2 separate regions of the Homo sapiens genome follow, and region 1 is linked to region 2. Evidence: promoter capture Hi-C in human tissues and cell types (Jung and others, 2019). All regions are on one chromosome and are shown on one strand. The core of a region is centred on a gene start or on the middle of the fragment in contact, and the rest is flanking DNA. Distances in the headings are between cores, read along the strand shown. Region 1 has its middle 61 kb from the start of LINC02005. Region 2 holds the start of PDZRN3 (PDZ domain containing ring finger 3).

Region 1 (4,849 bases), core at 2,185-4,684, 120 kb after region 2:
CAGAATACTTGATGCATCCGTTTGCCTCCTTGAGTCCACATTCTGAGAAAGCAGGAAACGCAGATGAAATGGTCCGTGACACTCCCTTAACACTCTCTGCAGAATGCAACTTGGATCTGCCATTTTCTGTAACGAAGATGGAAATGGCTCCTTTCTGTCTCCTCAACAAAATTTCACACTGTGCTTTTTAGGTATGTTTTATCACTTGTTATAATTAAAGACTCTGGCTGGGCTTATAACTGTAATCCCAGCCCCTTGGGAGGCCAAGACAGGAGGATCACTTGAGCCCAGAAATTTGAGACCAGCCTGGGCAAGATAGTGGGAGCCCAGGAAGTTGATGCTGCTGTGAGCTGTGATCACTGCACTCCAGTCTGGGCAACAAAGCGAGACCCTGTCTCGAAAGTAAGTAAATAAATAAATAAAAATCAAAATTCAACTATTCAATGGTTTATGTAGCATGTCTCCATGTCATCTCCATTTATGTCTCATATTGAATTTTGAGTAATGCCAAAAAAATCTCTGCAAGCTCCTCCATGGACATTTATTTACGTTCATGGTAGTTTATGCTGACAATTTATTTTCTGCCTATTGTTTTCCACACACTTTTAAAAAACCTTTGCAAGCTTAGATTTTGATTTAATTTTGGTTTTATAAAAACAAATGTCATCCCACAAGGGGAGATAACTCTTGTTATAAACACACGTGTGGAGGATTGTAAAACTTAATGAAATTCACAACCCAACGTTATAATAAGATGGCCTCAGGACAGAAACAATCTAATCAGCCTCCAGTGAGTCACAGATGATCAGCTAGAATCGTACACAGGTGGCTGAGGGCACAAGGCCGTTGGCGTCTTGCCTCACAACGCACAGGGGACATGCGTTTTATGACCTAACTCTGCTTGCCCTGTCCCGCTTTATTGTTCGCATATTTTTGTCCAAACCTGCCCTGGCAATGTAGCTGCACTGAAATTACAGTTTGCAAATCACACTCATTAGGAAAAGTTTGCAAATATTTTACTGCCTGAAAAAGGACCAATTCTTTTGCAAAGCAGCATCCAGATGAGGTAAGACTCAAGTTTTGGGATCTCTGGCTGAGTTTGCAGCTTTGAAAAGGAGCACAAAGAAACAATTACCCCTTTTCCTCTCCTTATTTGCCTTCAAGTCTTCTTTAGATAATTCTGTGAAAGAATAGAAAGTATTTTCTACAAAGCTGAGCATGGTGGCTCACGCCTGTAATCCCAGCAGTTTGGGATGCCGAGGTGGGAAGATCATTTGAGTCCAGGAGTTTGAAAACTGCCTGGGCAACCTAGAGCAAGACCCCGTCTCTACAAAAAAAAAAAAAAAAAAAAAAAAAAAAAAAAAAAAAAAAAATTAACTGGGCTTGGTAGTGCACACGGGAGGATCACTTGAGCACCGGAGATTAGGCTGCAGTGAACTGTGATCATTCCACTGCACTCCAGCCTGGGCAACAGAGAGAGCATGCCTTAAAAAAAAAAAAAAAAAAAGAATTTTTTACAATTTGTACCGCATGCTTTGAGTTGAATAGAGTCATTGAGAAAGTTGGCATGACTTTTAGTTAATAAAATATAAACATCTGAGCAGTTTTGGAAAGTAGCAATATGGAGAAAGATTTTTCAATCTTTCATCCTCAAATTAAATTGTGAGCTCTATCGCAAATCATGGTAGGTGCTATAAGGTCATTAAAACTAACCAGGGGGCCATTTACTGTACTTGATTATGCACTATTATGCACTAATATTAAGCAAGACAAGTGAGAAGCAGGAGCACATTCTAAGATAATGCAGACTTTTTTATGGCATTGACTGATGCTAAAAGAGGAAAATGGATGCATTCATCAGCCACGTGAAACTGTAGGTGACAGAAAAATGTGCTTTGCAAATAAGTGTGTAAATAGTATTTCATTATTTTGAGAACAAATAAAGTACTTGGGTTTTTTGTATCACACCAACTATGGCACAACCACTACCAGCAACTTCCTCCAAGGACATCTACAGTCCTTGTTATGATGGCCTGTAGACAGCAAGTGGTGAAGAGTAAACTCTGGAACGAGGGCACCAGGGATTGACTCCTGGTCCACCATGTATGAACTCTGCGACGTTGGGGCAATGCAGTTAACACCTCTGTGGCTCTGTCTCCTTTGTAGAAAGAAGAGATAATAACAGTACCTGCTCATAGGGTTATGGTGTTGATGTAATGAGTTTATCCATGAAGAGAGCTTAGCACAGCTCCTAGCACATAGTAAGTGTTTGATTGATGTTAGTTATTATCAATACAGTTATTTGGTAAATATGTTTATTCATCCACCTAGAACTCTATAATCATAACGTTATCTAAGAAGAAGAAAGAGGTGTGAGAACTAACATTTATTGAGTACTGTGAGATAGGTCTTGGCTGATTGCTATTTATTATCTTATTAATTCTTTTTATGATCTTAGGTAGTAGATACTATCTCCACAGATGATAAAACAAATTCTAAAAAGGCAAGAAACTCAGAAAGTGACCATCAGCTAAGTTAGGAGAGCTAGTGTCAGCCAACTACAAATCCATGCTTGGGCTTAAGGGTTGGGGATGTAGATTTAATTTCACCTACATCTCTTATAAACTCTCTGATCTTGGGCAATTTAACTTCTTTAAACTAAGTGGATACTGATAGACACTACCTCACAGATATGGCAGAAATATTAAATGAAATATTAATATGTAAATGTTTACCATAATACTCAGTACTTGAAAGATGGTAAAGTCAATAGCCTTAGTCATTATAATGTAATTTCTCTGTGTACTTGTGGCTCTGTGTTCCGCCATCCTGGCATTTGTCACATTGTTAACCCACCCATCACCACTGTGGGAGTGAGAACGCTGTGTATTAGTGGTTACCCCAACCATATTGATCACTGCGTGTCCTCTGCTCCTGACACACAGGTTTAATACACATCAGGTATTCAAGAAACGCAATAAATGTTTGTTGCATGACTAAATAAATCCCTTTTTATATTTAAGTCATCCATCCTTGTGTTTACATTGAAAGTTTAAAAAGAACGCACAAGAACTGAAATTCAAAAAAAATTCTCCTCTTAATCTTAAGGGAACTTAGCTAAAGAAACTTATTCTGGTTCCTTCCTTAATTTGTCTCAAACAACTGATATCTTATGGACAACTCTAATAGGCCTCTTATCTCTCTTTTGCCCTGTAAATAAAGAGAAAGAGAGCGATCCATCGAAACAGGAAGTTATCATGGTCAACCTGGTACCTTAAAGACTCTGCCTAGTGTCACAGCCCCATCACCATCACTTTGTTACCACCATTAGCTCTTTCTCTGTGGAGCAAACTATAACAAGACCTTATAAACAATATCTTCTTTAATCCTACCTGAAATTTATACATGAGAATTCTCATTCCTATTTTCTCAGGGGAGAAAAAGAAAGTTCAGAAAGGTTAAGTGACTTGCCCAAGTTCACACAGCAGGAATATGTCAGAGTAAGGGCTGGAGGACCACTTAATCTGACCCCCAAGGGGTGCCTGAGGTCAGTACCCCTTAGTATATCCCATTTTTAACCATTCTACAAATATTTATTGAGTACCTACCATTAAAGGAGTTGATTCTTTCTAAAGAGGTTAGAATAACATCAGGCACAGAATAAGTGCTGTGTGCCCTTGATAAATAAGTAAACAAATAAATAAGTCAGTCAGTAAGTTCTTGGCTTGATTGGAATATATCAGTGAACAAAGCATATCACCATCCTTGCTTTTGTGAAGCTTACATGTATGGAGGGAACAGAGTATGGTAGAAGGTCATACATTTGACGGAGAAAGTAGAGCAGGATAGAGGGGATCCATCAGGAATGTCCGTGGGGTTGTAGGTTGCAGTATTTAATTGGTGGTCAGGGTAGGACTTATTGAGAGGATGAAACCTGAGTAAAAAGTTGTGGCTATCTCAGGGAAGGGGGCTCCTGGCAGGAGAACAGCTGGAGCAAAGGCCTGAGGGGGACTGAGAAACAGTACATAGACCAGTGTGTCTGGACTGGAGTGAGCGGGGCTAGCAAGGCAGGAAATGAAGCCAGAGTGGGGACACCTGTGTAGGGTATCCTGGTCCTGGCTGCTTTACTTAGATCCCATCTTCTGACCCCTATAGTCCAGGAATTTACAATTCCTTCTTGGGGCCAGTTAGAAAGTCTCAGTAACCCCACCCAATGCGTGACCCCTTCCAATGCTTGTCCCCACATGGCAAACAAAGCCATATTTGTAGAATGGTTAAAAATGGGATATACCAAAGGGTACTGACCCCAGGTACACCTTGGGGGTCAGATTAAGTGGTCCTCCAGCCCTCACTCTGACGTATTCCTGCTCTGACCTTGGGCAAGTCACTTAACCTTTCTGCTTGACACCTTTAGGGATGAGAGCATTAAGATAGAATGCTCAAGCATCAGCTGGTTGGCAGGGTCTGCTGGACCCATGGATATTAGATACCATAAAGGGGAAGGGTTATCTGGGGGACTGCATACCTGTAATATCTGTCAGCCATGCACAGATATTGTAGGAGCCAAAACTGATTTGAAGAAAATGAACATGTAACTGAGGCAAGGGCTTTCTGGGAAAATAAAAAGCTGAGCATCAGCAACAGCCCCAAAGTAATTCATATTAAATAGATACATTTAATTCAATTCCATTTAATTTAATACAATTAAATCGCTATGTAGTAACTGCCTTCTATGTGCAAGTCACAGTGGGGAATACAAGAGAATTTTATGACAGGGAGTGAAATTTCAGGCATTTTGAAGTATTGGAAGGAGCAGTAATATTTGGATTTAAGAGTATGGGTTGGCAAA
Region 2 (5,366 bases), core at 958-3,457:
CCCTGAGTCACTACTTAATTTTGGACAAGTTATATAACTTCTCTGAGTCTGTTCCCTCATCTCAAAGGACAACATAGGTAATGCATGTAAAGTACTTCCTATTGTTGGTGGCACTTAATAAACACTCAATAAATGGTCCTTGTGGTTGCACTGAGGAGCAACATGATAGTTTATAGAACGTGGGCTGGAAAGATGGGCACGCAAAGGTTCAACATGCAGCTTTGCACCCAAAAGCTGTGACCCAGGCATGAAACTGCCCCTTAATGAGCCTCAGTTTTTTCATCTACTAAGTGGGAAGGGTCACACCAACCTCACTTGATTAAAAAGGAAATGACTGGGAAGAATGCAGCACCCAGCCTGGAGCAAAGTAAACCCTCGCTCAAGGGGACCGCTCAGGTGGAGATGTTAAAAATAATTCTAGGTAACACTTGTTGAGCATTTATTTACTCTCTGCCAGGCACAGTACGAGGCCCTTCTACTAAACTCTCTCCCTGAAGCCTGACAAAAACCTTTCGCACTGAGGGAAACTGAGGGATCTGGGAATTAAGCCAGAAGCTCACCCAGCTGGTCAGCAAAAAGCCCAGATTTGAAAACAGTTTTAACTCCAGAGGACTCACACTTAATTATTACTTTATACTTGTTGGGGGCAGAGTGCTCCTTTAATTCTTTCTGAAATCCCTGGATGAATACCTCAGGGGTGCCTGGCTGTGTTTTTACTCTGTATACCACGTCTCTAGGGACCATAGTTTCCAACTTTAGAGAGGTTAAGCAGCTTGCTCAAGGTCAGCCAGCTAGTTGGCTGCAAAGCCCACGCTTGCATCCAGCTTTTACCCCAGAGGCCTCTCTTCTGATATCCTTCTTAACTTAATCTACACTGGCTGTGGGTTCCCTTTATTTTTTTTTCTGGAATCCTAGAGGATGCACGGATACAATTCACCCAATGTGTCCATCTCTCCTCTCCTAAGTGTCAGTCTATAGGTTTCTGACCTCTAGAGGGTAAGCAACTTGCCCGAGATCCCCTAGCTGGTCTGAGCAGCAAAGCCTTTGAACGCAGTTTTGACTCTGGAGCTGCATTCTTCATTCTTATCCTACACTTGCTTGTGAATTCTTTTTCGTCCTTCCAGAATCCCTGAAGCTGTACAGCTATACTTTACCGGTTACGTCTAGACTATAAAGGACCACAGTGTTCCACCTCAGGCAGGTTCAGCGACCTGCAAGTAGTGATACAGCTGGTAAGCAGTGGAAGAAGAGGGAGGAAGCAAGGATGTTCCCGGGAAGCTCGGGGCATCCCTGTACCCAAAGGGATGGGGCGGGGCCCTGGGTCCCCAGGGATCCTGGCTGGAGGTCGGGGCGGGCAGCAGGCGCCTACCTTGCCGCCGGGCGGCGCGGCCACGCAGCGGCTGAGCGAGTCGAGGCGCGCGCTGTATTCGGTGAATTTCTTCTGGTAGCGCAGCGCGGTCATCTGCAGCTCAAGCTGCGCCGCGGCCAGCTGGGCCACCAGCGACTTCTCGCGCTTCCCAGCGCGCAGCGCCTCCTTCTTGAGCGCCTTGTGCAGCGCGCCCAGGCGGGCCTGGAGCGCGCCGTTGTGCGCCCGCAGCGCTCGCGCGCAGCAGTGGCCGCCCGCGCGCTGCTCGCCGTGCGTCAAGGGTAGCCCGCAGCCCTCCTGGCAGCGGCCCACTGGCCGCGCGTCGCAGGCGTCGCGCATGTGCGCCTCCACGTCGCGCCGCAGCAGCACCTGGCCGCAACCCGCGTGGCGACAGCGCGCGGGCGCGAAGTCGCAGCGCTCGAGGTGCTCCGGCAGCTGCTGCAGCTTGACCACCCGGCCGCAGCCGCGCGTCGCGTACGCGCACTTGATGTCCAGCTTGAGGATAAGGCGCTTGAGCGGCAGGACGTGGTTGAGCTCTTTGGCCGACAGGCGACCGCGGCAGCGCGCCGGGCAGCTGCCCTCCTGCACCACCCAGGGCAGCACGCAGCCGGCGCAGAAGACGTGGCCGCACGGCGTGGTCAGCGGGTCCTCCAGGACCTTGTGGCACAGCGCGCACTTCAGGTCCGGGTCCACGTCGCCGTCGAAGCGGTCCAGCTCGAAGCCCATGGTGGCGGCCAGGCCCCGGGGTCGCCGCCGGGCGGCCGGGCGCCCCCTCCCTCCCCACGAGGCGGCCCAGACAGGCCGGCTACGCCGCCCGCGCGCTCGCTGGCTCTCCCCGGACTGAGCCTAATTGATCCAGACTTCCTCGGAAAATGCCCGAGGAACAGGACTCCTCCGGCCGTATTTGCGCGAGCGCGAGCGCACATACATCGTGCCTTGGATGCCTCCCGCCAGCCCCCCGAAAAAGGGAGGAGGCTGGAAGGCAGAAGCGCGTGGGAGGACACTGAGGCTCGCCAGAAGGGACGGGCCAGCCCAGGACGCCAGCCTGAATCTTCTCGGGAAACTCCTTTCTGTTCTCTTACAGTCTACGCTATAGGAGACAAAACGCCAGCCGAGAAAAGCTCGCTGAGTTTGGAGCTGAGGCTACTGCTTTCTCCCAAGGGTTCTCTTCGAGCCCCTTCCCGAACGGATCAAAACTTTTTTACTCCCTTCTCCCTCCCCCTTCCTCTAGTGGCTGATTGCAGAGGACTAAAAATATCTTGGGGCCCGCTATCTCAGCACTTACGGTCTTTATTTATTTATTTCATTCCAGGGAAAGTTACAGAGCCTGCGGGAAGCTCCGGCTGCAACTTCAGTTCTGACCAGAGGTTCTGTGAACCTTCAGGATTTAGCAGGTTTCCAGGACCGGTGGGTGAATCTACCCGGGGAAGTTTTGGTGGACAAGAGCTGCTCGCCAGCTGTCGGAGTGGGAGAGGCCAGCGTGCTGGCTCCATCCACTTCACCTAACACCTCTGAAGTGTCTGCCCTGCAGTGTGGCAAGCGTGGTGCTGAGCGCTTCTAAATCCGTCGCTTTAAAGATCATTAGTACAATGTTGTGAGAGGGTTAGCTCCATTTGAAAATTATTTTCCCGTGATTACAAAAGAAGCGATGCTGACTGCAGAAGTTAGAACTGGGAGAAGACTCATCACCCCCATGATCATGTCAACAACTGCCCTCCTTCAGTTTTGGTTTGTTTTGTGTGTACACTCTGTCATCTTTCCATTGAGGAAACTCAGGCTAGAAGAAGGATAAAAACAAAACAGAAAACAAAACAAAACAAAAGTGCCCTGTAGGGTCCTGTAGGTCAGTGTTTCTCACATTTTAATGTGGTTGCGGTTCTGATACAGTGGGTCTGGGGCGGGTTCTGAGAATCTCCATACTGAAAGCACTTCCAAGTGATGCCAATGCTGCTAGTCCATGCTGGTCCTTGGATTCCCACTTGATTGGAAAACCCTGGCGATCCATAGATCTGGACATTCATTCCCTGCAGTACAGCAAACCTGGCTGGGTAGGATTCAGCAACAGTCCTGAGCAATGGAGGAATATTTTTGGAATTCCAAACTGGGTGTAAAGTTCATAGCATCATCCATTGATTTTATTTTATTTTATTTTTACCTCCCAAGGCTATAGACATTCCTAAGAAACACGCAGTCAGCTTTTGGTGAGAGTGGAATCAAGCTATGGAATTCTCATTTGGAATCTGCTTCCAGTTTCTGAACAGTGAAGCGGGAGAGTTCTGAACAGTAAAGCAGGAGCTCTGTATTCAGCGAGACTCTGGGGCCTGGAAAGTGGGATTACAGCATCCATTTTGTCTAATTGCTTTCCTTCTTTCTTTTATGTGGCTGCTAAAGCCCCATGACCTTCACTATTTAACTGCTTCATCAGAGTGAAAGAATTGCCTTGATGTTCATAAGGATTACTTGTTTCACACTGACCTTTAAAAAGTTGTCACTCACTAGATTTTTCAGTGCATGGTTGAGGTCACTGGACAGTGTTCTTTAATCAGTTTTGGTGGCATTTGTTGCCTATTTGAGGTGGAGACTTTCTTTTAATTGCTTTAATCAATTAATGCATTGCTTTGATAGGATTCTGCATGGGGTGGAATATTATTGGCCTTTGTTCAGATAAGCTTGTGCCAGGGAATCCTCCATCAGTATATTCATTAAACTGCTCATGGGCTCTCAGATAATGGGTAGGAAACAAATTCTTTCACCAAAGGTGTGTGGGCTTGTCAGTTTCACAGAATGAGCTAGTGTCAACAGGGTGATAATCTTCAAACCAAACTGGTTTTGAGAAACAGAGAAGTTCTGTCCTACACCATAAATGTAAATTAGTGCTTACTTGGGGTGTACACTTTTTTGGAGATGTTCTACCACCCCTCGGGTGGTCTCCCAGATGGCAGATTGAGAGGTTGTTGCTGAAATGCTACAGCTGAGGCCACAGAGAAGCCATAGCCTACTGTGGATTGGCCTCTTTAGGCAAAAGGAAAGTCTGTGCCACTCCTCAATGGTTAATTTTAGTATCAAAATTCTTGGAGGTTAGAAAAAAAATCCTACAATGTCAGAGCTGGCAAGACTATTATTTCAGTCACCAAACTTAACAGGAGAAACGAGAGCCAAAAATATTAGGAAAAAGGAGTTGAGGGCAGAGTTACTCAACCTTGGTACTACTGACATTTTCATTCAAATAATTATTTGTTGTGGTGTGTGTGGGGGTGGGGGGTTGGTTATCGTCTGCATTGCAGGATATTTAGGAGCATCTCTGGCCACTATCCAATAGACATAGTAACAACCCCTTGTTGTGACAACCAGGTTGAGAACCACAGTTTTAAGGAAGCTTTCTGCTCATTACTGAAGTCAGGCAATGCTGTCAGCCCACATTTTCTGCTGGCTGTGGAACCACCTGGTGAATGCTGCACAGTGAGAGAGGGATGTTATTATAAATCGAAAACTCAAGGCACCATACCAATAAACATGAATAAAAACTGTAGGAAGATGAATGTTTGGTGTGGCAGGCCTCCTGAGAAAAGTAGCTGATTTTTCTGACATGGATTAGATACTTACTCAACCGTCCCAGAAACATCTGAGTGTTTATATATGGATGAATTCCTTGTGGACAGCTGGATTGGTCACTTTGCAAATTATTTTTGCGACTTCCACTACCTCTTGCTCTTACCCCTTCCTTTTATCATCTGATTCTGCACTTTCTAACCAAAATGTGGCCCCAAGCCTAATAAAAATACTATTTCTATATTCACCACGATCCCATTCTGATTTTAAACTCTGTTTTTAGTGTTCTTTCCATCAGCATGTTTAATCAGAAGTTGATAATAATATCTACCACTTTTTTGGGAACTGTTACTAGGTATCAGGCACTGTGCTCAGCACTTGACCTTCATTGTCTCATTAATCCTCACTGCACATAGAGAGGTAGATATGTTGTCCACCCTGTTTTACAGAT

The links. The method cuts DNA at HindIII sites, captures the fragments that hold promoters and counts their contacts. A contact is called where the count stands out against the background at its distance.
Region 1: a fragment that was not itself captured here is called in contact with the fragment with the promoter of PDZRN3 in region 2 in 3 of the 25 tissues and cell types used here (aorta, bladder and mesendoderm cells).

What each region holds. Positions count from the first base shown.
Region 1 is chr3:73,746,010-73,750,858 of GRCh38, forward strand. No RefSeq gene overlaps it. Among named protein-coding and RNA genes, the nearest start is that of LINC02005, 61 kb to the right of the region's middle. The HindIII fragment of the contact is 6,509 bases long and covers 181-4,849 here.
Region 2 is chr3:73,622,734-73,628,099 of GRCh38, forward strand. It overlaps PDZRN3 (PDZ domain containing ring finger 3), which reads right to left and starts at 2,208. Exons shown (of 10, transcript NM_015009.3): 1 at 1,370-2,208. The coding sequence starts at 2,092. It overlaps PDZRN3-AS1 (PDZRN3 antisense RNA 1), which reads left to right and starts at 835. Exons shown (of 2, transcript NR_046681.1): 1 at 835-1,232; 2 at 2,679-5,166. RefSeq lists an enhancer at 1-141. The HindIII fragment of the contact is 5,146 bases long and covers 1-4,388 here.